Regions from separate parts of the Homo sapiens genome. Here all the other regions are linked to region 3. Evidence: promoter capture Hi-C in 16 types of primary human blood cells and fetal thymus (Javierre and others, 2016). All regions are on one chromosome and are shown on one strand. The core of a region is centred on a gene start or on the middle of the fragment in contact, and the rest is flanking DNA. Distances in the headings are between cores, read along the strand shown.

Evidence for each region. Contacts are between HindIII fragments. The CHiCAGO score rates a contact against its expected background, and 5 or more counts as called.
Region 1: a contact is called between a fragment that was not itself captured here and the fragment with the promoter of ALDH1A2 in region 3, in 7 of 17 cell types (fetal thymus, M2 macrophages, megakaryocytes and 4 more). The highest score is 15.2, in fetal thymus.
Region 2: a fragment that was not itself captured here is called in contact with the fragment with the promoter of ALDH1A2 in region 3 in 2 of 17 cell types (M2 macrophages and fetal thymus); the score reaches 5.4 in M2 macrophages.
Region 4: a contact is called between a fragment that was not itself captured here and the fragment with the promoter of ALDH1A2 in region 3, in 1 of 17 cell types (endothelial precursors). The highest score is 5.2, in endothelial precursors.

What each region holds. Positions count from the first base shown.
Region 1 is chr15:57,555,523-57,562,323 of GRCh38, reverse strand. It overlaps the pseudogene RPS13P7. Among named protein-coding and RNA genes, the nearest start is that of GCOM1, 33 kb to the left of the region's middle. The HindIII fragment of the contact is 6,295 bases long and covers 2,203-6,801 here.
Region 2 is chr15:57,571,631-57,578,179 of GRCh38, reverse strand. No RefSeq gene overlaps it. Among named protein-coding and RNA genes, the nearest start is that of GCOM1, 17 kb to the left of the region's middle. The HindIII fragment of the contact is 3,267 bases long and covers 3,505-6,549 here.
Region 3 is chr15:58,061,794-58,068,498 of GRCh38, reverse strand. It overlaps ALDH1A2 (aldehyde dehydrogenase 1 family member A2), which reads left to right and starts at 2,788. Exons shown (of 13, transcript NM_003888.4): 1 at 2,788-2,965. The coding sequence starts at 2,849. It overlaps ALDH1A2-AS1 (ALDH1A2 antisense RNA 1), which reads right to left and starts at 3,274. Exons shown (of 3, transcript NR_147215.1): 1 at 2,757-3,274; 2 at 1,565-1,684. RefSeq lists a silencer at 1,933-2,122 and enhancers at 2,731-3,250, 3,251-3,770. The HindIII fragment of the contact is 8,256 bases long and covers 1,562-6,705 here.
Region 4 is chr15:57,628,844-57,635,683 of GRCh38, reverse strand. It overlaps GCOM1 (GCOM1, MYZAP-POLR2M combined locus), which reads right to left. Exons shown (of 17, transcript NR_104371.3): 6 at 5,830-5,982; 7 at 3,125-3,250; 8 at 1,943-2,071. MYZAP (myocardial zonula adherens protein) reads right to left here. Exons shown (of 13, transcript NM_001018100.5): 6 at 5,830-5,982; 7 at 3,125-3,250; 8 at 1,943-2,071. Among named protein-coding and RNA genes, the nearest start is that of MYZAP, 40 kb to the right of the region's middle. The HindIII fragment of the contact is 4,701 bases long and covers 1-4,206 here.

The sequences.
Region 1 (6,801 bases), core at 4,101-6,600, 510 kb after region 3:
TGTCAAGAGGACCCCCTTGCCACAGCCTAACCAGTGTGTTCTGGACCCCACGTTTCCCTTTCCAAACTCTAATCCATCCTATCATTGCTCAGGGCTTTTTGATTCTGCTCCTTCCTCCCCTCCCCACACACATAGAACCTTTTATTCCAAAATCTAGCAGTACATCATTGGTTAGTAGAAAATAACTCTCAGAGCCGGGCGCGGTGGCTCACGCCTGTAATCCCAGCACTTTGGGAGGCCTAGGTGGGTGGATCACTTGAGATCAGGAGTTCGAGACCAGCCTGACCAACATGGAGAAACCCCGTCTCTACCAAAAAATATAAAATTAGCCAGGCATGGTGTCGCATGCCTCTAATCCCAGCTACTCAGGAGGCTGAGGCAGGAGTATCACTTGAACCTGGCAGGTGGAAGTTGTGGTGAGCCGACATCGCACCATTGCACTCCAGCCTGGGCAACAAGAGTGAAACTCCTTCTAAAAAAAAAAAAAAGGAAGAAAAAGAAAATAACTCTCATAACTTAAAAACAAAAATCAACAAACAAACCCCCCCCTCAAAAAAAAATCCTATAACATAAACTTCCCAACCATCTAAAAACCCAAACTCAAAACGTGTTTCTTTTGTCTTCCCTTCTTGAAGGAAGTAGGTCTGCACGGGCCTCCCCATCTCCTAGAGCTCGTACACAGCTATGAACCTGCTCTCAACAATGACTGGACACTTCCTCTTGGTTCATGGAAAAATTTGCTCGTAATTTTCCAGTCTGACTCAAGCTATCAGCTGGCGATACAGTTTTTTGCCAGCTTTACAGTCATTACATTACTCAAACAGAAACCCTTTTGCAGGTGACCTTGAAAGTTATTAAAAACTATTCTCTTTTTGAAGGAAGGACTTGTTGGGGGCGCCTGGTAGAGAGAGGATGTCTCGACTGGGTCTGGTGGTGACGACATCCTGGAAAAGGAACAAGATCCAAGTCACCAATCATTCTCTTATACAACGCATCCTTGAATTTTGAAGAGCCTGATATTGTGGATGGTTTGTATTGTCATTTGGCAGCAAAAATAACCTACATTGAATACACAGAAATAGTCCTCCACAGCCTCTGCCCGGGCTTTCCAGGTTTGACCACTGTGCAGTGCCTGTGATGCTCTCTGCTGCCACCCAGTGGATATACTGAGAAAGGTCAGGTAGGATGTTTAAACCCAGAGGTTCTCAGTGTGGTCCCCAGACCAGCAGCATTGGCATCAAATTCTTGGCTGCCCTAGAAACTCTGGGAGTGGGGCCAGCAGTCTATGTTTTCACAAGCCCTCAAGGTTATTCTGATGCACACTGAAGTTTGAGAAACACTAGTGTAGACTAGGTAGTAATTTGCACCCAGGGATGTGTGAAATGGATCATCAGATTTCTCCATTGGGAGAAGTCGATTGTCCTTATTGATGATCAAGGATCACATCTTTTATAGGAACTAATTTCACTGGCTATTTTAAAAAAATTACTCGTCTTCTCAGAAATGACAAGAAGGCATAAACCCCAACTCCTCTGTTTTTTATCCAGAATCTCCTGATTATAAGCAGCTACTGCTGCCTTGTTACTAAGAGTGGTATTCAAGGTTCTCCAAAAATATGGATCCAAACGTGTTTTCCAGTCTCACCTCCAGTAATTCTCCACTTCATTTACTCAAGATTTTAATGCAACTGGCTGATCCTCTGAGCCCAGCTTTCATCCCCGTGTTCCCTCTGTTTTTTCCACCAAAGATGCACCCTTCTAGGAGATTAAAATTTCATAATAAACAGTTCTAAATTTTCAAGCCCATTTTAAAGCCCTTTCGAATGCCATTTCCTCTATGAATTCTGCCCTGATTGCTCCATCCAATGACAGCCGTTCCCATCATGAACCTCCGCCACACTTCATCTATACCTCTTTTATAGTGCTTTAAATTCCATCCCTTGTTTTTTTAGTGCTCGGTGGACATTTCTGATCCCGTTGGGTCCAGAACTGAGCCTTACTCATCTCAGCATAAGCCAGTGCAGACTAGGTGCATAGTGACTGCCCTTTGAAAGGTATGCATGAATAACATAGGTCTCTCACAAAATAGCAGTTCACAATAAATGTTGGAATTCAATTTGTTGCAATGCGAATATTGCAACAGTTCACCTAAGAGTAACATAGGAACACCAGATCACCTGGGCAACACTGGGAAGGCAAAGCTTCGTTTTGTCCAAAGTCCTCTTTGGGACTTCACCACTGATGGGTGGGGCCCTGGATTACAGGAGCCACTAATCTACTCCTGTGCCACATTTGGGCCAGAAGCGTCCAACAGCTCCCCCTGCTGTCCACCTCGGCTATTACATCAGGACTGTGAAGGCTTCCATCATCACCCATCAGTCTCTTCTTTAAAGAGCCCACCTGAGATCCCAGAAAACCGCATTTCTGCAGCCACTACTAACACCTGGTTGAAAATGCTGTTCCCCCCATCCCCCCAACAGACCCAGAGCCTTTGGTCCAAATCTCCTGTTGCCATCTCAGGAAGATGAGATCTGGCAATATTTCCCTCCCAGGCCACATCCCCCACTGGCTCCCATCCTCACTACCTTCCCCAATAAGTGTTCATATGTTTAGAGTTTTGACCACTGTGGACCTGTTAGGGAAGAGAGATGCACTGAGCCTGACAATGCAGCTGGGGGTAGGGTGCCCTTTAAAGAGAACCAGAAAAGCAGTGGGAAGCCAGAGGGCGAGGGATCCAGGAGTCCCCGAGAAAAATGTACAAGAAGCAGAAGAAACAAAATAAACTAGAAACAGTGACTGCCTCTGAGTAGAGCCTGGAGAAATGAGCGCCAAGGATGGAAGACTCACTTTTCATTGTTTTACCCTCCTGTACTATCTGCATTTATTTTATGTGCTACTCAAAAACCACACTAGACAATAAATAAAAAATTAAAAAGACTCACAAAACGACAATTTCTAAAAGAAACTTCACTAACAATATAAAAAGACTGCCCTGATGAAAGAAAGATTAGTCTATTATTCGGGAAGAAATGTTAATAATCAAAGCTGAGGGGAGAGAGAAAGGGAGAAACTGCCACATTTGTAATTTCTTGGGTCTGTACAAACTAGTAAACCCTTCTGAAAAGCAACTTGGGAACTGTATTAGTCCGTTCTCACACTGCTACAAAGAACTACCTGAGACTGTGTAATTTATGAAGAAGGAGGTTTAACTGACTCACAGTTCTGCAGGCTGTACAGGAAGCATGACTGGGAAGCCTCAGAAAACTTGCAGTCATGGTGGAAGGCAAAGGTGAAGCAAGCACATCTTCACATGGCAACAGGAGAGAGAAAGAGGGGAGAAGTGCCACACACTTTTAAACCATCAGATCTCGTGAGAATGATCTATCACGAGAACAGCATGGAGGGAATCTGCCCTCATAATCCAGTCGCCTCCCACCAGGTGCCTCCCCCAACATTGAGAATTACAATTCAACATAAAGTTTGGATCACAGAGCCAAACCACATTAGGAACTTTTATAGAGACTTAAAGATGTTGTCTTTCCTCTTCTCTTTCTGGTCATCTAGCCAAAGCAAATTATTTGAAAGATGAAAAAGCTACAGATATAACAGTATTTGATGTAGGAAGGCAGAATTCCAAATCCTACACATTTGTTAATATACAAATAGTATTATAGTTAACTGATGACAGAATTCACTCAATGTGATGTGATTTTTAAGTGTATTTTTAAAAAGCATTTTTAAAAAGTGATCAAGATTATCTAATATCTATAATGTTAAGTGACAAAAAAAGCATATACAAATCATATAAACACTGCAGTTGTACCTATGCTTTAAAAACTGTGTAGGAAAAAAAGACTGGAAAGAAATGAGCCAAAATGCTAATAATGGTTGCATCAGTATGGTGGGGTTATTTTCCAAATTTGTAGTAATACAGTTACCTTATTCTATATAGAAAAATAAATATGTAAAGGAAGTAATGAATCTTTTCAATCTCACCCCCTGCCAAGCAGGAACACACGGGAGGCCTCTTGGCAAGTTGAGGTGTCATACCATTTCAGGACCATCCATCTAGGAAACGCGTACCTAAGAACACCCACCACCATGCATGCCTCTAGTTCCAAAGTGTTCGAAGAGCTACTCCCAGGATGTAAGGATTCCAGCTCCTGGGTTGAACTTAAAAGTTTGCTAAATGTAGTTCATACTCCAATCATAAAGGGTCCAAATGGGATATAGCAAAATGAACAAGGCAACTACCCCAGTTAGCCCAGGGATGTGCGAGCACCCCTCTCACCCATCCAACCATCCAAAGAGGACTGCGAGCACCATGACCCATAGCGACAGCAGCCAGGGAAGAACAATGGTCAATTCCACAACAGAGTTGGGCGTTTCAAGGGATGAATGAGTGTATTAATCAAGGATCCTCAAAGGATAGAACCAGTGGGTGTGTGTGTGTGGAGAGAGAGAGATTTATTATAGGAATCGGCTCATGCAGTTAGAGGCAGAGAAGTCTCATGATTTTCCACCTGCAAGCTGTAATTGAGTCCAAGCCCAAAGGCCTAAGAATGGGGGTGTGGGGGGGCGGGTAGCAGTGATTGCCTAAGTCCCATTCAGAGTCTGAAGGCTGGAGAGCAAGGAGCGCTGATGTCAGAGTGGGAGAAGACGGATGTCTCAGCTTAAGTAGAGAATGAATCCTCTATTCCCCCACCTTTTTGTTCAGTGAGGGCCCTCAGCAGATTGGACAGAGCCTGCTCACAGTGGGGAGGGCCATCTGCTTTACTCGTTCTGCCGATTCAGAGGCTAATCCCTTCTGGAAACACCCTCACAGACATACCCAGAATTCATGTTTTACCAGCTATCTGGGCATCCCTTAGCCCAGTCAAGTTGACATCTAAAATTCACCATCACACAGAAGATGCCACCACCATTCCACAGGGGACAGAGCTGGTGAGACCTTGGTCTTTGTGAGCCTGAAACTAGACATGTGGCCACCCAAGGAAAGCTGAAAATGCCACCCCCAAAACAGGCCAAGAATTCAGTGTTCTTTCCAATCAATATTCTTTAGTATTTATTCTCCATACTGGAAGGACAAGGGGAAACAGTGTTCTGGGGTGAAAATGGAGAACGAAGTCCTCCGGGGCAGTTTTTGGTGTTCCTCTTTTACTGTTTAGGCCTGGTCAGCTCTGGTCCCAAACTTGGACATCCCAGCTCAACCAAACCTCACCCTGACACTACCTGCCTGGGTCCTCTCCTTACAGTGCAGTTCAGTCACTGTGCCATTGATCAGGTCAGCCCTTGGGGTCTTACCACTCCCCGGTGTGGCTACTAAGGTACTGACTTCCTTTAGACTATTTTTTAAACAATGCACCCCTAATTACACTTGAGATATTTTAGAATCTTGGTAGAATTTGAGCACCCTACAATATAGCTCCCAGCCTGGCCTGCCCTGGCTCTGCTCCACAGTGTCCCCCTGCCAGCCTTCCCCGTACCCAAAGACTCTGCTGTCTGGATTCCACTACAGCGACCTTCAGTTTCTAACTGAAGGGGGTGATCTTTTGTTTTAAAAAACTGCAGGGCATTTGTGTGAGCAACCCTCTCACCCATCCGACCATCCAAGGAGGGCTGCGAGCACCATGACCCATAGCAACAGCAGCCAGGGAAGAACAATGGCCAATTCCACATCAGAGTGTCTTGGTTGTTCTTCCAGGTCTTCAAACAACTGCTTTTAAGAAATTTTTGCCCACCTTTTCTAGTTGTTCCCAGAGGAAGAGTTCAGTTTGATACCAGCTACCATGTCATGCCTGAAGCAGAACTCAACTCCTTTTGAAGCGGATGGCATATAAAGCAATCAGTATTTTAAAAACTCAACATTCAACACTTAATTTGCCAAAAAAAATGACCATAAAAAAATAAAAACAGCCTTTCACTGCCTGACTGCCGCCGTCACGGGTCACATTCATGTGCCCGGGAAGGGCCTGTCCCAGTCGGCTTTGCTCTATCACCACAGCGTCCCCACTTGGCTGAAGTTGACATCTGACAATGTGAAGGAGCAGATTTACAAACTGACCAAGAAGGGCCTGACTCCTCCACAAATCGGTGTGATCCTGAGAGACTGACATGGTGCTGCAAAAGTGCGTTTTGTGACAGGCATAAGAATTCTTAAGTCTAAGGGACTTGCTCCTGATCTCCCTGAAGATCTCTACCACTTAATTAAGAAAGCAGTCGCTGTTCAAAAGCATCTTGAGAGGAGCAGAAAAGACAAGGATGCTAAATTCCTTCTGATTCTGATAGAGAGCCGGATTCACCGTCTGGCTCGATATTATAAAACCAAGCGAGTCCTCCCTCCCAGCTGGAAATATGAACCATCTACAGCTTCGCCCTGGTTGCATAAATTTGTCTATGTACTCAAGCAATAAAGTGATTAAAAAGAAAAACAAATGACTAAATAATCTACATCAACATAGGCCTCAAAAAAATGTAATTTTGAATGTAAAAGTCAGAGTACTATATACAAGACGCTGAGATGTATATGACATTTTAAAACACACAAAACATACTACATGGTGTTCATGGATGCATACACGTAAAAATAAAATTGAATAGAATACCCAGCAGATTTGAGAATAGTGGTTGCCTTTGGCAGGGAGTGAGGGACAAAAAGAGAACTTCAATTTTATCTGTAATGTTTATTTAAAAATGTAAAGCAGACAGATATGAACAGCTGTTAACCACTGTTAATTCTTGGTGGTGGAAACATAAACAAACCAAATCCCTCCATTGGAAATGCCCAGAGATCAGATGTCAA
Region 2 (6,549 bases), core at 3,889-6,388, 490 kb after region 3:
TTTGAAATGAGGGTCAGAATAGACCCTAACTTCAGCCAACTAAAAAGTTGTAGCCTTTCTCGCTGGCCTATTAGGGAAGATCTGATTATTCTATTTCAGGAAGAGGAACAGGAGAAGGAGTCAGGGAAATAAATTGCACTACTTTGCAGAATTGCATAGCTTCCTTCCTTCCTTCCTTCATTTATTTACTTGGCCATCTCTTCGTTTACTAACTCAATGGACATCCAGTTATTGAGTACTTTCAATGTGCCCAGTATTGTCCCAGGGTTGTAGGAAATACAAGGATGCATAAGACTCACCATTGCCCTGGAGAAGCTTGCAGGTGGGAGCGGGGCAGTGGGGAAGAAAGGCAGGGTTGCATGAAAGAATTATGTGTTTGTGGACCTAAGAGGGTAGTAGAGAATGTGAGACAGACAGGATGGCATGGACGGGGTTGGGCTAGCCCCACACTCATAGTTCTTATGGTTGCCATGAATTTTGCCATTACATTTTATCCTGAAAGCGCTAGGAAGCCACTGAAACATTTTAAGCAGAAAAGTCCAATAAGACAAGACTGTAAGTGGCACCACCAACTATGAACGAATGAGGGGTGACGGTAAAGAACATGACCTATCCAGTTTATAACCCAGGCATGAAAATGTGCCATAAAGACTCCATAAATATTTGTTGAATAATCAATGAATTCATGAAGATGTTTCAGAATAGCAGGGGAGATGTAATTTCTGGAGATAAGAGGATAGGAGGGATTGGGACCTTCTGGAGTCTGGAAAAGGTTTGTAATAATCACAATAGGAATCCAAGAGATAATAAGAAAATGATGAATAAAATGATTGCCAAGCCGATCAACATTATTAGCCATCAGGGATATGCAAATCAAAATTACAATAAGACACTACTTCACATACATGAGTGGCTATAATTAGAAAGATAATAACAAGTGTTGGTGAGATATGGAGAAATCAGAACCCTCATTTGCGCTGGTGGGAATGGAAAACTGACTGATCACTTTGGAAAACAGTCTAGCAGTTCCTCAGATGGTTACATATAGACTTAACATAGGTCCAACAATTTTACTGTCAAGTATATATCCAAAAGATACATACCAAAGATATATATATATAAGTCCACTCAGAAATTTGTACACAAATTCTCATAGCAGCATTATTCACAACGGTCAAAAAGAGCAAACAACCCAAATGCCCATCAACTTATAAATGAAGAAGCAGTATGTAGTATGTTCACAAACAGCATGTTATTTAGTCATGAAAGGGAATTGAGTACTGATACATTCTACAAGATGGGTGAACCTTGAAAACATTATGCTAACTGAAGAAAAGCCAGTCACAAAGACTATATCTTGCATGGTTTCGTTTGTATGAAATGTCTGTAATAGGCACATCCAAAGAGGAAAAAAAAAGTATATTAGTGATTGCCCAGGTCTGGAAGGACTCCTAAAGAGTATGGAATTTCTTTTTAGAATCATGAATATGTTCTAAAATTGATTGTGGTAATGGTTGCACAATTCTGTAAATATTCTAAAAACCATTGGTTTGTACACTTTAAATGGGTGAATTGTATGGTACGTGAATTATAGCGATACACATATTTGTGGATAAAACTTTTACACACACACACACACACACACACACACAGTGATTGCCAGACCATGGGGAGTCCGGCAGGGGAGTAAGTATCATGACTTTGTAGCGGAGCCAATCAGTCTGATTTTCTTACTTTCTCTGAGCAGTCTCAATGGTTGAGGGGAAAACAGCACATGAAAAGAACAAGTCAGTAATAAGCAACAAGAGTTAACAGTTGCTGAGAGCATCTACAGACCAGACACTATAGAAAGCTTTGTCCACATTCTCTCATTTTATGTTACACATGTCTATGTACATATATACATATATATTCTATCACATCCTTCCAATAAGGTAGATGCTCTCATAAAGTCAATGTTGCCTCCCTGAGCGTGGGAGCTGGAGCCAGCGGCTTGAGTGGAGGGTGATATGTTAATGCACCAGGAGGGGCCCAGGCACCTGTAGTCTCAGGAAGGGTAAAGAACTGGTTCTGAGAGTGGAGCAATGGCTTGCAGAGCTGCACATAACCTGAGGAATTAGTGGTTGCCGCTCTGACTGTGAGTTCTCAGAGATGGGATAGTTTGAAGCATGGTGCCTTCCAAGCTGAGGAGGAAGTGGGGCTGAACAAAGGGCGAGGGGTTTGGTCACAGGGCTGTGACAGCCATGACAGGTTGCTCATCATCCCCAGTGGCGACATGATGGAAGTCTTCCAAATCTCAAAATTCTATGAATTTCAAGGGGATGGACATGTCGAGGACACATCCCTGGAGGAAAGTGAAGGGGAACTCCATCACCTACCAACCAAATGTGGAGACGGAACATGCAAGAACCAGGACCCTGACGAATACAATTGCTTCTGTCAGTGGTTCCCAAACTCTCCATTGCCAAGGACATCTTTCAGTCACACTCGCTATGAATAGCACATTTGGAAAGTTTTTGTCTATCCAATTACATTTTAATGAGTAATTAATTTGTTTTCAACATTTCTATTAATCAAGGAGATTAACAATTGCCAATTAGAGCTTCTAACGAGCTGAGACCACCAACCTTGCCTGGCTGGATTGCTGTTGGCCCCAAGCCAAGAAGCAATGATCCCATCAGCCAAGGCAGCAGTGCTTGGGAAGCTGTACATTTTCTTTCCGTCAAGCTTTTCAGAGTAGCGGAATGGCCTGCAGGTCCCCATGAGAACATCACCAGGCCCAAAGGGTGCATAGAGCCTTGTGTCAGGAATCATTGTCCTCATCTTGTCCCCCATGGCCTGGGCCGTCTTGCCAGCAGGCAGAGCAGAGGGAGGGGCAGCTATAGGTTGGGCCAGGATTTGCATCCCTGAAGGACAATGTGGTAATTAACATTAAACAGAGGCTAAGATATTGAGATTTCATACGCATCTTTCCCCAAATTTCTAAAGTTGTGCCAAGACTGTGTGATTTTGTTCTTTTCAATAAAGGCAATCTGTTAGGTTTAGAGTCTAGAGGGGAAAACCAAAAGAACGTGAGCCATTTTTGTAATTTTAATCTTTCTAATAGCCATATTTATTGACAATAAAAGGAAACAGGTAAACTTGATTTTACTCATATATTTTATTTAACCCAATATATTGAAATATTATCATTTAACATTAATATTATGTTACTAGTAAAATAGTAATGAGATATTTTACATTTTCTTGTACTAAATCTTCAAAATTCATCGTGTATTTTACACTCAGGTCATTTCAATGTGTACTGGCTACAATGTGAGCACTCAATAGCTGCAGGGTGGTAGTGGTTACAAAGCTAATAAGAAGAGGAACTGGAATTGGGACCCCCAAGGGGGAACTGGGACCCTGTTCCGACCTCCAAGTCAGTTCTGTCCCTGCTGCTATGCAAGAACTATTTTTGTTCCAACACAAGTAAATGACTTCTCTGAAGATATCCTTAAAGCTTACCCAGGCCAGCCCCCCACCCAAGGTGGAGGGGCCTATTGATGTGGCCTGGAGTTCACGGGAACATCATAGCACAAGATAAACTCGCTCAAAGAAGACATCAGGGCCAAGATGACAGACTTCAGGGCTACTCGCTCTGTTGCCCAGGATGGAGTTCAGTGGCTCAATCACGACTCACTGCAGCCTCAACCTCCCTGGGCTCAGGGGATTCTCTTGCCTCAGCCTCCCAAGTAGCTGGGACTACAGGCATATAGCATCACACCTAGCTAACTTTTGTATTTTTTTGCAGAGAAGGGGTTTCGCAAACTCCAACTCAATTAGATGAATTCTGGCTCCATAAGAAGCATGTGTTTCCCACTGGGGCCTCCCCTCCGACCTTCCAGAACTTGGCACTCAAACTAGGTATATCTTATCCCTTCCCCAAGTCCCTGTCTAGCTGCTCTATCCACGTACAAACTCAGAGGCTATTTTCTACCATGCAGACTGGGATTCAGAGGAAGAACCTGACACAGGCAGGGGAAGCAGAGGAAGCAATGGGGAGAAAGAACTTGCAGGGTTCCTGCAATGTCCCCATCCCTGATTCAAATTCCCTGTTCGTGGGCTCTGTGAGACATCCCTCCAACCATAGAACAAGTTCTTTCTGCCACTTGAGGTCATCTCAGTGAGTTTTGGATGATTGCAGCCAATTGACCCTAACAGCTGGGCCTCACTCAGAGGCCCAGGAGTGGGCTCCAGTTGAGCAGAAGCCTGCGGCCTTATTTCTGCTTCCTCTTCTAGATGGCAGTAGGGCCACCCCAGTTTGTCCCCACATCCCATCAGCATTTCTGAGGATTTTGTTCAGTCGTATTACAAGTTTACTGGGGTCCTGCCATGGAGGACCTAAGGCCTCTGTGGGCCTCTGTCCTGTCTACTCCACATTCAGAGCCCTGGCTCTCTTCCTGTGAGTCCCAAGCTGCCCATCAAGTCTTCTCTGATCCCCAGTTGGAACACATGCTCCTTCTGCATTCCCACCCCTGTTACTGCATCCCAGGCTTCACCGTTAAGCTCCTACTTCCTTCTGTCCTCGCTTTCATTGGAAAGCTGATTGGATAGCCAGCTTCCTCACTTAGTTGTGGGTAAGGACAATATTAATCACCTTTTATTTTCTCAGGTTTCTCCCCACACATCTCCTTCCCTGTGCCTACGAAGTAGTAGGTGCTCAAATGTGTTGACTGAAGGAAGGACAAGATGAAAGGAGAAAAGGAGTGAAGGAGGAAGCAAAGAAAGGACGCTTCAGCCACTTAGTTAAAGTATAAGATAACATCTAGTGTAATTCAATTCTAGACCAGACTGCCTGCAGGAGAACCTCACCAAGAGGAGCCAGCCAGCAAGGGAATTGCAGCCTGCATGGTGCAGACAAAACAGCCCCGGAATGGCATCTTTTTCAGGGAAATCAAAAGGTCTTAAGCAGCGAGCTCCCATCATTCAGATCCTGAATGCTCTAAGGGGATCATACAACTGCAATTCACTTCTGCATATGCATCTATTACGGTGTTCACATCTGAGTGCAGCACAGAAACAGTCTTTTTTTGTTGTGTTTTTGTTTGTTTGTTTTGAGATGGGGTCTCACTCTGTCGCCCAGGCAGGAGTGCAGTGGCTCAATCACGGCTCACTGCAGCCTCAACCACCTCAGGCTCAGATGATCCTTCTGCCTCAGACTCCCAAGTAGCTGGGACTACAGGCACACATCACCACACCTGACTAATTTTTGTATGCTTTGAAGAGATGGGGTTTCACCATGTTGCCCAGGCTGGTCTCAAACTCCTGAGCTCAAGCGATCTGCCTCCCTTGGCCTCCCAAAGTGCTGGGGTTACAGGTGTGAGCCGCCACACCTGGCCCAGAAACAGTCTTTAAGAGGGATGTGGATATTCAAGAATTGAAATTTAGAGACTCAGAAAATGGACCTAATGACAAACAAATGTTTTTTGAGAGCCTAACTGTTTCCAGATGCTCCACTGGACACTGGGAATCCAATGGTCAGCAAAATAAGCACGGACCATACACATGTGGAGTTTGTAGATTATTGAGTCAACAGCACACATCAGAAATTGACTCAAAAAAATTAAAATCTAAAGGCAAATAAATGTTAAGCAATTATTTTGAGAGGCAAAATTGAGATAATAGAATAAGGTTTGGATTCAGACCAGAATTGGGTTCAAATGCTGATTTTGCAACATTTAATGAAAAGAAGACAAAATTATACACACACATGGTTTTAAAAGTCCAGTGGTTCTACAAGTTTATAATGAAAATTAGCACCCTCTTGCCCCTTGATCCCCATTGCGTAGTCACAGCCACTTTTAACTCTTTAAGCTATTTCTTCTGGTATTTATCATCATATATTTCAATTACACACTTATATGGCCATATCTGGATTTTGTTTAAATTTTAGATCCCATCTAGTGACTCTCCATGTGGAAACTGAGGTTTTGGTCTCTTAAATCTTCCTCCCACATGCCCCCTCATTCTTCAAATACAGCTATATCGTAATTTTGTTTAAATCAATAATCACGGCTTATGCTCTATGACCGCGTGATCATCAGTCACAGGCCATGAAGTGCATTTTATAGTAATATTTTCTTTCGTATACAACTTTTTGTTTTTCCTGAAGCTAACAACTATCACCTTTTCTCCACTTATTTAGCTTTTTATGTATTAATACTTATCACTAAGTCATCACTAGCTTTCCTTCAAAAGTGACAGTGTGTCACATGACCAAACTCATCCGGTCATATGTCAACAGCATTTTTTTTCTGGAGACAGCCTCCACCTCCACTTCCCGGAAGAGCTCTCTAAACTCCTGCTCCAGCCTGGACTGGTGGGGCTCCAGGCAGCCCCATGGTGCCATCCTGGGGCTTCGCTTGCCATCATCCAGGGTGTCCTCTGGGCATTATCTCCTGGGATGCGTTACCTGCTTCCTTTATCTCATGCTGTCCTTTTTTTTGGATAATTCCCTCATTTTGGAGGAATATACCCAAGGGTAAATAGGAATTAAGGATTTCAAGA
Region 3 (6,705 bases), core at 1,539-4,038:
CAGCCTGGCTGACATAGGGAAATCCTGTCTCTATCCAAAACACAAAAAATTAGCTGGGTGTGGTGGCAGATGCCTGTAATCCCAGCTACTCGGGAGGCTGAGGCAGGAGAATCGCTGGAACCTGGGAGGCGGAGGTTGCAGTGAGCCGAGATCACACCATTGCACTCCAGCCTGGATGACAGTGCGAGACTCTGTCTCAAAAAAAAAACACAAAAAAACAAAAAAACACCGATGGGGAAAAGCAAAACGAAGTTTAAGATCAAGAGGAGAAAATGTTCTTTAATCAGGCAGTGAAGGAAGTTACTTTCACTTACGGTGGAAGTTGTCAAAAGTGCTCTGTCTTTTGCTCAAATCAACCAACAAAAATTCTTATTAAATAGTTATTATGTGTTCTACGCTGTTTTAGGAACTGAGGAAGGCACAAGGGAGACAGGCTGGAGTGCAAGATCTCCTCTCACTACAACCTCCACCTCCTGGGTTCAAGCGATTCTCCTGCCTTAGCCTCCCGAGTAGTTAGAATTACACGCACCTGCCACCAGGCCCAGCTAATTTTTGTATTTTTAGTAGAGATGGGGTTTCACCATGTTGGTTAGGCTGGTCTTGAACTCCTGACCTCAAGTGATCCACCCGCCTCGGCCTCCCAAACTGCTGGGATTACAGGCATGAGCCACCGTGCCCAGCCTCTATACCTTTTCTATAGTGTTCTTTTTGCTCTTGTTGAAGCCTCCCTTCTCCCTTAAGACCCAGCCAAAGGTCAGCTTTCCCAGGGAGTAGGCGTCCTCCTTGGAGCACTCAGCTCATGTTGTTATGGCTCTTTTTCATGTTTTCCCCACAGCCTCTCATAACTAGTGATAAGTTTTTCCACAGGTATCACTGTTCCCCCTTGCTGGAACCCTCTCTTTCTCCCCAATGAACTCTAAGATTTTACTTTTTTATTTCTCAATTGTATCTCTAACCTTCTAAGGCTTTGATAAAAGTATATCTTATGAGCATACACTGTTATTAAGTCATAATTTTTGGCCATAGAAATTCCCTGAGTACAGATCCCTCGACTGCCCAAGCTAAGGTCTGTAGTTTCTCCATGAAAACGATTCACCCAGGTCACTTTGGGTTCTGAGAGGCTGGAACTTATTTCTATAAACCTAATACTAAAATGAAATATTTTTGTCTGTTTTCACTATTGCTTAGCATCTGAGCGCTGAGCATTAGGCAGTTTTAGTTACTCAAAGTATCTAAGGAAAGATGTTTTCTGGCTGATGCTTAATGTTTTCTTAACGCCCAAGAAATGGGACTCCAGCGGCTCTAAAAATGGCATTTAAGATGAGAATCAGGCCGGGTGCAGTGGCTCATGCCTATAATCCTAGCACTTTGGGAGGCTGAGGTGGTAGGGTCACTTGAGCCCAGTTCAAGATCACAGTGAGCTGTCACGGTGCCACTGCATTCCAGCCTGAGTGAAGGAGTGAGACCCTGTCTCTTCAAACAAAACAAAAAGACGAGAATCACAGTGTTGCTTGGTAGTGTAGAAAAAGCGTTTATCAACACTGTAGGCCCCTGTCAAGCTTACATTTGGAGTGAGGAGTAAGGAAGGGAAGGGACTTATGCAGGTCTTTCCATGCGGCCTTGATTTAGTCCACGGAGTCCAAAGCCCATTCTGAGGCAGGGTCTCTAGGTTCTTGGTTTACACCTGCAGGCCGATCCACAGACTAGAGGGCAGCTTGTTAGACTTTGGAAACACTTAGATTAGGGGGGAGATGGAAACTCAATCCCAAAGGGACAGTAAAATGAGCCTAAGGTCTGGCGGGACGATAGCTCTTAGCGTGTAAGGAACAACAGAAAAACAAAATAGTGTTTCTGTGGGTGTGCTGGGTGAGGAGGGGAAACAGCCGGAAGAGGGGATCCGAGAAGAACTAAAGGAGCCCACGAAGCATGCAGCTCCTCGGAGGAGCCGGGGATGATCACTGCCCATATCCTCCCGCCACAGCGCAAGCCGCCCGGGCGGTCCCGGCCGGCAGAGGGCAGCAACTGGGCGGGCGACGCCTGGCAAGGGCCGCCCCGCGCTGACCCGCTCGCAGGGATCCTCATTCTGAGCCCGAGGCGAGGGGGACTCGCACCCACTGCCACCTCTCCCTGACCCTCTGGCCACCATGCACCTCGGCCCGGCTGAGGGGAGTCGGGGGGTCGGGGGAGAGGGCGTAGCTGCCGAGAGCCTGGCGCCCCTGCCCGGAGGAGGAGAACGGAGGACGCCCTCCCGGGTCTCCGGAAAGGAAGGGGGACGGGGTTCGGTGGGTCCTGGGACGGGGATGGGAGGGAACGTGGGCGAGCTGGGAGCCGCCCTCCGCAGCCTGGACTTTCCTGGCCTTTCTCTACTCCGAAGCAGCACCGGGCCGCTCCGGTCCCCGCCAGCCCCTGCCAGCTCCGCTTCCGGGGGCCACGACCCTCGCTCGACTTCGGCCGCTGTGCGCCTCCCGCCGACTCTGACCCAGGGACCCGGAGACCAAGTCCGGCTGGCCGAGGCCCGCGGGCCGCGGCGCAAGTTCCGCTCCCACCGTCGAGGACTGTGGAGGCGGCGTGGGCTGGTCTCCGCGGCCGGGGGGCGGGAGCGCCGGGCGGACTTGACCGTGGGCGCCAAGCGTCCCGGCCGCGCGGCGCGGGCTTTATGTAAATGGAGGCTGCGCCGGGCGTCCTAGGTAGGATGGACCAGCCCCCCGCGCCTCGGCCCTCACGTCCAATAAGAAGAGCCCCAGCTTGACACCTGCCTATATACAGGCGAGCGCGCCCCCGGGCCGCGGACCGCGCGCACAGCCCGCACTGCCCCACGCCGCGGGCTAGGGACACCCGGCCCGCCACCATGACTTCCAGCAAGATAGAGATGCCCGGCGAGGTGAAGGCCGACCCCGCCGCCCTCATGGCGTCGCTGCACCTCCTGCCGTCGCCCACGCCCAATCTCGAAATTAAGTACACCAAGGTAAGCGGCCGCCCAGCGCCCGTCGTCCACGGAGACTTTCTAGAACCTTCTTCGGTTTCCCCGATCTCTTCAGCGGGTGAGGGCTGCGGGACGGGGCCGGGGTCGTCGGGGCCAGCCTGTCATCCCGGCGCAGCAGAGGGACCCCCTGCCTGTCTTCGGGACTGGGGCGTTTGAAGCCCCGCCGTGGTCTGAGGACGCCTTGGGGACTTAACCCAACCCGAAGCGCAGCGTTGAGGGGCAGCCGTCAACGGCTCCTGCCCCGGACTCTGAGGCTGGTTTCTGTCCGATTCTCCCGGTCCCGACTGCCGCGGGGGAAGGCGTCGGAACCGCTTAGTATCCTCAGATGGAGGCCGGGGTTCCCCGTCAGCTTGGCCACGCAGCCTGGCCGTCGCCTCTCGGTCCTCCGCCTTCCGGGCCCCTCGGCTGTTGGTCCCAATCAGGTCCTCCACAGCCCGGAGGGTGCTGAGGGGCTTTCCCGTAAGGAATTGTCAAGACACCAGCGCTCTGGCCGGTTTGACAAATTTCACGGAAACCTGACTGATAAGTACAGTAACTCCAACGTCAGCGTTTCATGTGAATTTTGTAGGCAGCGGCAGTTTCCCTGGGAAACTTAAAAAGTTTTAATATTTGTTAGCATGTTCGGTTTTGAACTGAAGAACTTACTTTTTTTTTTTTATAACGAACGTTGACATCTTGGGTTTGCTAAGCAGGATTTTTGTTGTTGCATCGCCTAAAAAAGAATATGCGTCTGCTACCTAATATAAAATGAATTTACTTTCCACAAATTCGACATAGAAAAAAAATGATCGATTACAAACGTAGGGGTATTGTAATGTTACAACATTTTGAGGGAGGTGGTGAGAGAGAGATGGGATTGAAAACCACGTTTCTTGGAGTTCATTTTGTAGTTCTCTGGTTTGATTTTCTAGTCCTTTCGGTACATTTCTACACTCAACTTCTCCCAATTAACGCAAACGCATAGACGCACATGCATATGGTTAAAGGTTGATTAAAGATGTATTCCATCGTGCTTTTTTACAAGATAAATTTTGTAGAGAAGTAAATTGTTTGCATCTGGCTTAGTGGTTGAATGAGATATACAAGAAACAACATCAGAATATTGAGATTTTACTTGCATTGAGTTTTAGGTTACAAATCAGGGCGATTTGTGTTTTGAATGTCGATTTAGATGGATTTAATGTACCTGCTAGCTTTTTTAGATGGTGTGACAAATTTTTCAAAGCCGTTTTAATGAGAGGTCGTTAATGGTTATAACCTTTTAGGCATTGTTTGCATAACAATAGTGCCAATGTGTGGCACTTGTCTGGGTTTAGGAACGAGCAGGGAAAGCATGCAGCTTAGAAGTTTTATTTTATGAGGGTCTCTAACCTCTTCAGGCTCTTTTTAAAGGTCTTAAAATGGAAGATCTACACAGGAGAAAAGACCTAACCCTCAGATTTGGGAAGGTTTGATTTTAGTCTTATTTTTGATGGGATTTTTCTAACAGCCTCTGAAAGAAATTTTAGGTATGCAATAGGTACGTTTTTCAGAATTTAATTTGGAAGCTCTTCCAGTTCTCTTACTCCCTAACTACCCCCTCTCTCTTTTCTCTCTTGTTCTCCCCCAGTAGGAAAGACAACTGATTTATAGCTAATTGGAGCCTTTAATGTGGAGTCTTTTAGCTCGGGGAACTTTTATCCAGTATCCACTTTCCCACTTAATACAAAGAAAAACAATCAGAAATGAAATAATGGATTGTAACTTGATTCTTTAATTTGTGGGGAGGAGGTACCTTATTTTTGCCTTGACAAACAACCCTCATAAACACTGAGTAACACTAATCTAAAGGCGAGCTCTTTCCACAAAAACTTGTAAAATCAGGTATCTGTGAGCATTCCCAGCAGTTTTCCTCCTCAGCTCTTTAGTGAGACTTCTAAATTTTCTAAGACAAGCATAGTGGACAAGCAGTATTTTTTTTTTAAACGTGAAGAGCAGAAGCTGCTCTTTTGGTATCCCAGGGTAATGATTTTTTTACTTAAAGGAAAAATAAGATTAATAGTGAGTTTTTTAAAAACAAACATGACCAGAAGTGAGGGAAATTATATTAGCAATTTCAAACAGAAGAGTGAACAAGATAGAATGGACAGTCCTTTAGCATAGTGATACCATATTCGATAGGGGATTTTAAAAGGGTAATGGCTACAAAAGTATTACGCGTTAGGGCGTGTTAAATATCACATTTGAAAGAAACACAATATTTGCATCAGAAAATGATACTGTAAGACAATATGTTATTGTTTTTTGTCTTGCTAAACATACATCTTTAGTGAAGGATATGACTTTCTGTATGATTTTTCAGTGTGATATTGGGACCCACATAGAGTCACTACTTAAAATAAATGACCAGACTATGAGAATTTCAAGTAATGTGCACTTAGAAAACTTTGTACTTGTGATCTTGTATTTTTCTGTATTTTTGCTCCAACTTCCTCCTCCTCCTAGAAGTATTTCACATTTTTAATAAAGGGAATGGGGGAGATGACCAGAATTAAAAGTTACTGCCTTTGCCTGCTAGAGGTCCAGTGGAAATGCTCCAGAATTAAAGTTCATTCCCTAAGGATGTTGAAAGGGCTAAACTCATGGTTGTGTATGGACTTTTAGGCAGTTACATTCCATTTTTTAAAATACGCTTACCACTCTGAAATTCTAGTATCCATATTATACCAATGATCAATGGCAATACCATTTTTGGAACATGTCTATTTGTATTTCCCTAATACAGCAAGCTGGATCCCAAGTTTTAAAAGTGATCCCTTATGAAGGAATGTGCTTTTTAAAACTAGATGGTGTTAGTCAAGGAGGAGTGAAAACTAACATGAAGTATTGAGGGGACCAATTTGGTACCAAGAGAATGCGCTCTCCTTTGCTTGTATCCTAAGAAGACTGCATTCTGATTGCCTTGAGCGATGTGTTTATGAATTTAAAATTTTCTGAGTTGTCTATTTTATTAGTCTGACTTTTATAATTTTGTATAACTGATATTATAGGAATACACACATTACAAAGTCAAGGCTCAGCACTTTACTGACCGCCCCTGACTGCAGGGGATATCTCTTAACAGATTCCCAGGTCTTTGGAAACTTGTCCTCTGTATTCCACTTCGACCTTCTTTCTTGGCTCTATCTTCTCTTCTGGCTGTACCGGTCTCTCCTTTCCTTCCTCCCTCCCCCAGATCGTTGTGCTGTCTTTCTCTTGGTCACTTTTTCAGTGAGAGTTTATGCCCATAACTAACAGTAACAAAGAGTTATGTTTTTTTTTTCTGCATCTGATATTATATGGGGCTGAAACACAGGGAGGAAGAGGGTATTTATAACATAATGACCTGCTAAAATAGAAGAGGCAAAAAGGCAATCAACTTAAAACTCAGAGCTAATGTGCATCGTGAGTCTAGATTTGTCTTTTTATTTATTCATTTAAACTTCTGTTTTCTGGGGTCTATTTCAATTAAATTCAAAAGGCATTTGAGTGGCCATGTTCCTAACAGGGGTGCTTTTCACTGTGTTAGACTGGAAACATCTGCCTTCTGGGAGATTAGGGTCTTATTAAAAAGTTTGTGTGCCAAAAATTGGTTGTTAGTACAGCAGTAGTTCAGTTGATCAATGTAATAATAATGATGATGATAATTATAATGCCACTTACATTTTTATAGGGCCTAATGGTCTGCCTAGCACTTTCATATA
Region 4 (6,840 bases), core at 607-3,106, 430 kb after region 3:
AAACAGTGTAAATTGGCCTACCTAATGTTAGTTCAATAAATAGAGCATTTCTCTAGCCTAAATGGAAAGGAAGATTTAGAGAAAGGACAATACATTTCCAATCACTAAAGAAGAAGCCAACACCACTTGGGGAAGGTTTTGTGTTTCCTAAATGCTGGCAGGGAGGGCTGGCCTTACCAGCTTCCTGGCTCTACCCATTCATCCCACATGAGGGCTCCATGTGAAAATCAGTGGGGAAAGACAAGAAACTTTCAGAACCTCAAGACAGCAATGAAGATAAGCATAAAATGGGTCGTGCTAAAGACAACCTGACTCTGAGGGTAGACATTTAGGCAACCTCGTAACAGAGTAAAAATCATAGCCACAAATGATCGAACCCTTACTATATACGAGGAACCATGCTTAGCACTTGGCGTGGATTTTTCTCATTTATTGCTCACAAAAGCCCTAAGAATAAGAAGTACCATTATCAGCATTTTACAGAAGTGGAGACTGAGTTAGGAAAAACCAAGTAAGTGCAAACAACTACAAAGAGACACAAGATTCAAATCCCCAGACTGTCTGATTCTAAAGCCTATGTTCATGACCACTACCTGTGGTTTCTCTGTATGACGGCATCTCCCCCAGACCACCCTGCTATGCTGCCGGCTCACCTTGCTTCTTTACGCTGCAGAAAAACCTGCTGCCCAGAGAGAGAGCATCTGAGTTAACTGGGATCTTCTGCTGTTGTAGGAGGACAATAATGTGGGAGGAAGCTCACTCAAGCTCTAGAAAGCTCCCTTGTTGCCCAATCTTCACCACCACCCCCTCTGGTCAATACTAATGTTAGTCCTGACTAAGCCAATCACCTACTCTTCAATAAAAGATGGGATTCTGTTTTCCCAGGGGGTAGAAGGGAGATTGTAATTGACTCTTTAGTTTGCCCAAGTCTCTCCCAAGTAAAAAGCTAAAGAGCTAAAACGAAGCACCCAGTGAGCTCTGAAGCTCCACAGAACTGAATTTCATGCAGTTCCCATAGTGGCGACACCTCGCCTTATGAGGGGACAGTACAGGGGCTTATGCTGCAAACACCATTAGCTAAGGCGACCTCTTCTCAGCATCACATGAAGCCTGACAGTGACCTTGCTCTTGCTGCCCCACCTCTGCCTCCATCATCAGATTGGAGATTCTTGGCATCCCGAATGAGTCACAGGGTGCTAATAATGTCAGGGTCTTGGCAGGTCACTGCTCTCTGCAAACTCATATGCAGCCAGGGAGCCATTCCCAGAAACCAGCCACAGACTTGGCCCTGAACTCCTGGGTCCAGAAGTCAGCCGTCACCTGCTAAAGGTCACCCATCCTTTCTCTTCCTTCTCTTCCTTCTTTTCCTCTTTCCTTTCTCCCACCACTTCCTCCCCTTCCTCCACTTCCTACTTAATTCCTGGCCTCTTCCCTTTCACTAGACAGGCTTCATTATCCCAGCTGAGCTCCCGCCTTCCTCAGGTTCCCCCACCACACTCACCAGCCTGCTTACAACACCTAGAGAAATGGGGCCTCCCTACTCTCTCAAGTCCCCAGCGTGTCAAGGAAAAGCCAACCCTTGAGACACATGCCCCAGAAACAACAGGGCTGCTGTGTTGATGTAACACCTAAATAGGGCTTGATAATTCAATGGATAAACTAAGTTCACACCTGGGGCACCAGCAAAGCAAGGCTGCTAAAATATTAATTTTTCTAAAGAATTTCACAAGTAATATTTTTTAAAAGCATCAAAATAGTTATCATGGGAAAAATGAGAACGTTGTTGGACTTCCTTATACTTTATTTTATAGCTTTGTCTTTTTTTTTTTAATTGCAAATTTTGGAGGTGAGAGGAATCCATATCCAGGGCCTCTCGTATCTCAGATGGACCTACAGGGAAAAGTTTGGGCAAGTGGGCAATAGGCCCAACGCTGTGTCCTACCTTTTCCATGCGCTCAATCAGCCTGTCCAGCTCCCCGATCCTCTGGTCTTTCTCCTCTAGGCTGATCTCTGCTGCTTGCATCTTTTTATTGGCTTCTTCAATCGCTTTCAGAAAACTATTGGTTTCTTCCTGCAAAAGAAATATACCCTCCTAAGTACAGGCATGGAGTACCGAGGCTACTCACCGGGATCCAATCAGCTCAGGCCTTGCTAGATCACGATTTCTCTTTAAAACATGACCTTGGAACCTGAAAGTGTCTCACAGATCATGAACTCAACCTCACGGTTCTGGTTCTCACCTATGAATAAAGATACATCATGTGGCTGGTTAATGGGCCTCACTACATTTTTTTCCCTTTTTTCCCTTAAGTCTTTATATCCAAAAGGTGTAAAAGAGGCCTACAAATGTTTAATAACATTGAGTAGATGCTCAGAATGTCACTGTATTTGCCAGAAGTGTAAGGGAATTAGAACCAGATCTGGAATTGAATGCAGAATTCCCAGATCCTTCTCCCATAATGCAATACATCAGCTCATTACTAACAAGAAAACCCAGTCAATCATCAGAACATGTATTAAGCCTCTACGGACACAGATGAGCCAGACATGGAGTCCCCGCCTTCAGGAACTTATAATCTCCTGGAAAAGCCAAGATGTGAGACGCACAGCCCCACTCTAATGGCAGGTATAAAAGAATTCCAAAGTAAAAGCAGAGAGAGAGTGAGTGAGCTTCCTAAGGACAGATAATGGTTCTGGCTCCATGACTGGAAGAGACTCCAGGCATGGAGAGAGTGGCATTTAAGGCTTTTAGGGAGCTTAGGCAAGATCAAAGATAGGGAAGGAGGAAATTTCAGGTAGAGAGAACCAAATGGAGGGAGGGAGGGCACAGCTGCGGGCAAGCCCAGGGTTTGCTTAGATGCTGGCAAATTGTCAGATGAGCTAGAAAAAGGTGTGTATTTAGAGACAGAGACAAGGGGCTATTCTGAGTAGAGACGGGGATGAATAAAGGCAGAGGGGAAGAGGGGAGGGGAGTGAATGAGCAGATGAATAATTCCTTGATCCCTTACCCATGGCTGAGTCTACTGACCCACCTCTAAGAATAAACACTACTACGTATACATCACCAACAATAATGAACCAACAATTCCCGGTAAGTTTACATCGGCAGCTACAACACACACACCAAAAGAGCCTCCTTCTCAGCACTGTGCTTCCTCTGTTCTTCCTGCAGCTTCTCCTCATACTGGCTGTACAGCTTCTTGGTCATCTCTCGCATCACCTCAGCATTGGCTTCTTGGGACGATTCCACCTACAACGAGACTCATTTCAGAACGACAGCTTTTGCAGGGCCCAGAGGAATTGGCAGCTTCCACTGCACATTTCATGTGGGGACTCACAGAGGTAGTGAGCCCATCCACTGGGTTCTGCAGCAGAGAGACACAGCAAGACCTAACAGGGAAAGGGAGGAAGAGGGGTGAGCAGAGCCACAGAAAAATAAAAGTGGCATTTCACACGAATTTTGGGGGCATTCTCAGGACAAAGGTATGCTCCACATGAGTGACTTTTTCAAAAGGTAGAAACTTATTTCTCTACGCAATCTCATCAGTTGCATTGGCCAAGCCAGTTTCTAGGTAAGACCAGCTAAGCTCAAAGGAGAAATCTGGACTCACCCTTTCCATACCCTTGTGCTTTCCTAAATGTTGCTTTTGGAAACATTCCAACCTAGCATGGGGAACACTAAGCTGGCACCCCTAGTACTGAAGCAGGCCTGGCTTAGGAGGTGAGAAAAAGTCAGTGGAGTTGCAGGTGGGCAGGGCTTAGGTTGGTGGTGGCTGGTGCCTCCTGTTTGCCAGGCCACGTTCTCACACACAGACTTCCCGCCATTGATTTTATGCTGCAGAAGGTTTGCTCTCATCCCCTCCTTCCAGGTTATCGCCTATTGCAGAGAGCTGAGTTTGCTGCATACCTAAACTCTGGAAAAGGGAAGCATTCTTCAAACTCAATAGGTTACATGATGTTATTTCCAAGATGTGACAAGTCTCTCTTGACGCCCTTGACTTCTCCCTTCTCATCACTGGGTAAGTGTTGGCACCAAGAAGTTCCAAAGTGGAAAGTCCTGAGCAGAGCTTATGACCAGCTGAGAGAGACCCTGTGTGCTGTGTGCTCCATTTGCAGTGCACGCACAGCTTGCTGGAAGGGCTCTGTCCCTGGAGGCCCATTCACTCTGCATCCAGGTCATGTAACATACCCTGAGTTCCTGAAGCTTTTTTTTTTTTTCCCAATTTGGGGAGTAAAATAGGAGGAGTAGGAGAAACCTTTTTAACTCCACTGTCAGGATGAAAACAAGCATCAGTCTCTAAAACAGGCAACTGTGGGCTGGAGTTAAAGGCCTGGACTCCAGGGAAGCAGCCAGATTGCCAAGCAGCCTAATGATGTCCCCAGATGCCTGGTGACAGGCCACCTCTGGAACCAACAGGACTGAACAGGACACACACATAGAGTAGACACTCAATAAATATTTGTGGACTGAATGATTGAATAAATCCCCTAAGCTGAAAAAAATTACTTAAATCAGTAATTTCAGGCTTTTTTAGCAACATAAACTTTTTTCACCCCCCAAGTAACTCTTACTGAGAAAGTAACTCTTACACGGAAAAGAAGAGCTGCCCTATTAGAAGTGAACATACAGAGGAGATGATCTGTCCCATGGCTGTGGCAGGCCAAGTGAACTGGCAGCAGATCCCCAGGGCGGCAATACAGAGACCGGGCGGTGGACCGGCAGCCCCTCTTCCCCACCCAGCCTACCCCTGTGAAGGGGCCCACACTTCCCAGTTTGTCTCCCTAACTAAATTACCAATAGTACCACCTTTCACTCCCTCACATATTCTGCTTTGAGCAATAAACTATGTGGATACGCTACTCATAAGATAGCCTAAGTCTGTGCTGAGCAAAATTTTCAAACCACAGACTTACATAAAAAGGAATTCATCCAAGATATAATTTATTAAGTGCCCTCCAGGAGCCATTCATGGATCTGCTCCTGTCACCGGGTAGGAAGTCTATCCACAGTTTAAATTTGGGAGGGGCACTAATGCCTCTAGGGCATTAGAAGTTCAGCTAAGGAATGCTCCCAGCCTAGGGGGCCAAATGGGACATTCCCCAGTGTCCCTAGTCACCCACCAATTTTCTTCTTGAGAATATTGTACTTGGGGTACAGCCCAAGTACCAGCTATTTGTGTGCCCCTCAGCTCTTTATTGTCAAGCCAAACAGAAAGGCCTTGGGACCTCAAAGAAAATCTAAACAGTGAAGGAAGAGATCTCCAAGGCTTCTGACGTCCCAGATCTGTGGGCATCCCAAGCGTCTTCTCAGTTACATAACAACAGCACCATGGTGAGTGTCTAAAGAGCCCTTGAAGGGACTGGAGGCCAAGAAAGGCATGCCCAATGGGGGCATTTATGGAGAAGCCCCAAACTGGGCCAAGCACGGTGGCTCACGCCTGTCATCCCAGCACTTTGGGAGGCCAAGGCAGGCGGATCACCTGAGGTCAGGAGTTCGAGACCAGCCTGGCCAACATGGTGAAACCCCTTCTCTACTAAAAATACAAAAATTACTGGGCAAGGTGGCACGTGCCTGTAATTCCAGCTACTCAGGAGGCTGAGGCACGAGAATTGCTTGAACCCAGGAGGCGGAGGTTGCAGTGAGCCATGATTGTACCACTGCACTCCAGCCTGGGTGACAGAGTGAGACTCTGTCTCAAAAAAAAAAAAAAATCCAATGAAGAAGAGAATGGAGAAAAGGAAATGGAAAGGTTGAAGATGGGAAGAGAAAAGGGAGAAGTAAAGAGGAGAAAAGTTCATAGAAAATAAATCTAGGCTTTTATACTCCACCTTCATTTTTAGCAGCTGGTTTTCAACTTGCGCTACCTCCAACTGCCTCTGCTTTTCCCTCAGCTTGTCCATGGATGCTTCATACGTCTGCTGCAGATTTCTGATTTGATCCTTAATGTTGCTGTTTTCCAAAGTCACATCCACGAGGGTTTTCTGTGAGGATGAAAATAAAAACAAAACCAGATCCGGTGGCGTGAAAACACATGGGCTGCACCACATGCTGGGGCATCCCCTTATCATTAAGCACTGGGGTAGCTGTCCTAGGCTACAGCAACTGCCAGTCTGGGACCCTGTGCTGTGAGGGACTGTGGGTCTCCCATGGTGGCCAAGAGGTCTGCCCCTGTAGCTTGGAGGGACTGAAAACCTCTCCCATACCATCCCATAGCTGCTGCCAACACCACTTGCCACTGCTTAGGATGGATGGAAATGGATTAAAATGGAGTCCTTCCAAGGAAAAGTATTATAATACATCATTTCACATGGGAAAAAAAACAGCTTTTGAAAATAGTAAGTATAGTATAATCCCATTTTGAAAAATATGTATAAGCATTGGTTCAAATATATGTTTATGCACTGGGGGGAAAAAGACCAGGAGGAAATCTGAATGATAGTTTTCACTATGTGATAGGGCTATGGGTATCTATTTTCTTATTTATTTTTTCTGTATTTCCCAAATTGCCACAATGAAATCAGAAAACAAAATACGAGCTTTATAGAATAGAGATATTCCTCTTTTTATTCTTTTTCTTTTTTTTTTTTTTTTTTTGTTTTTGAGACAGAGCCTTACTCTGTCGCCCAGACTGGAGTGCAGTGGCACGATCTCGGCTCACTGCAACCTCTGCCTCCCAGGTTCAAGCGATTCTCCTGCCTCAGCCTCCCGAGTAGCTGGGACTACAGGCGCCTGCCACCACGCCTGGCTAATTTTTGTATTTTTAGTGGAGATGGGGTTTCACCGTATTGGCCAGGCTGGTCTCGAACTCCTGACCTCGTGATCCACCTGACTCGGCCTCC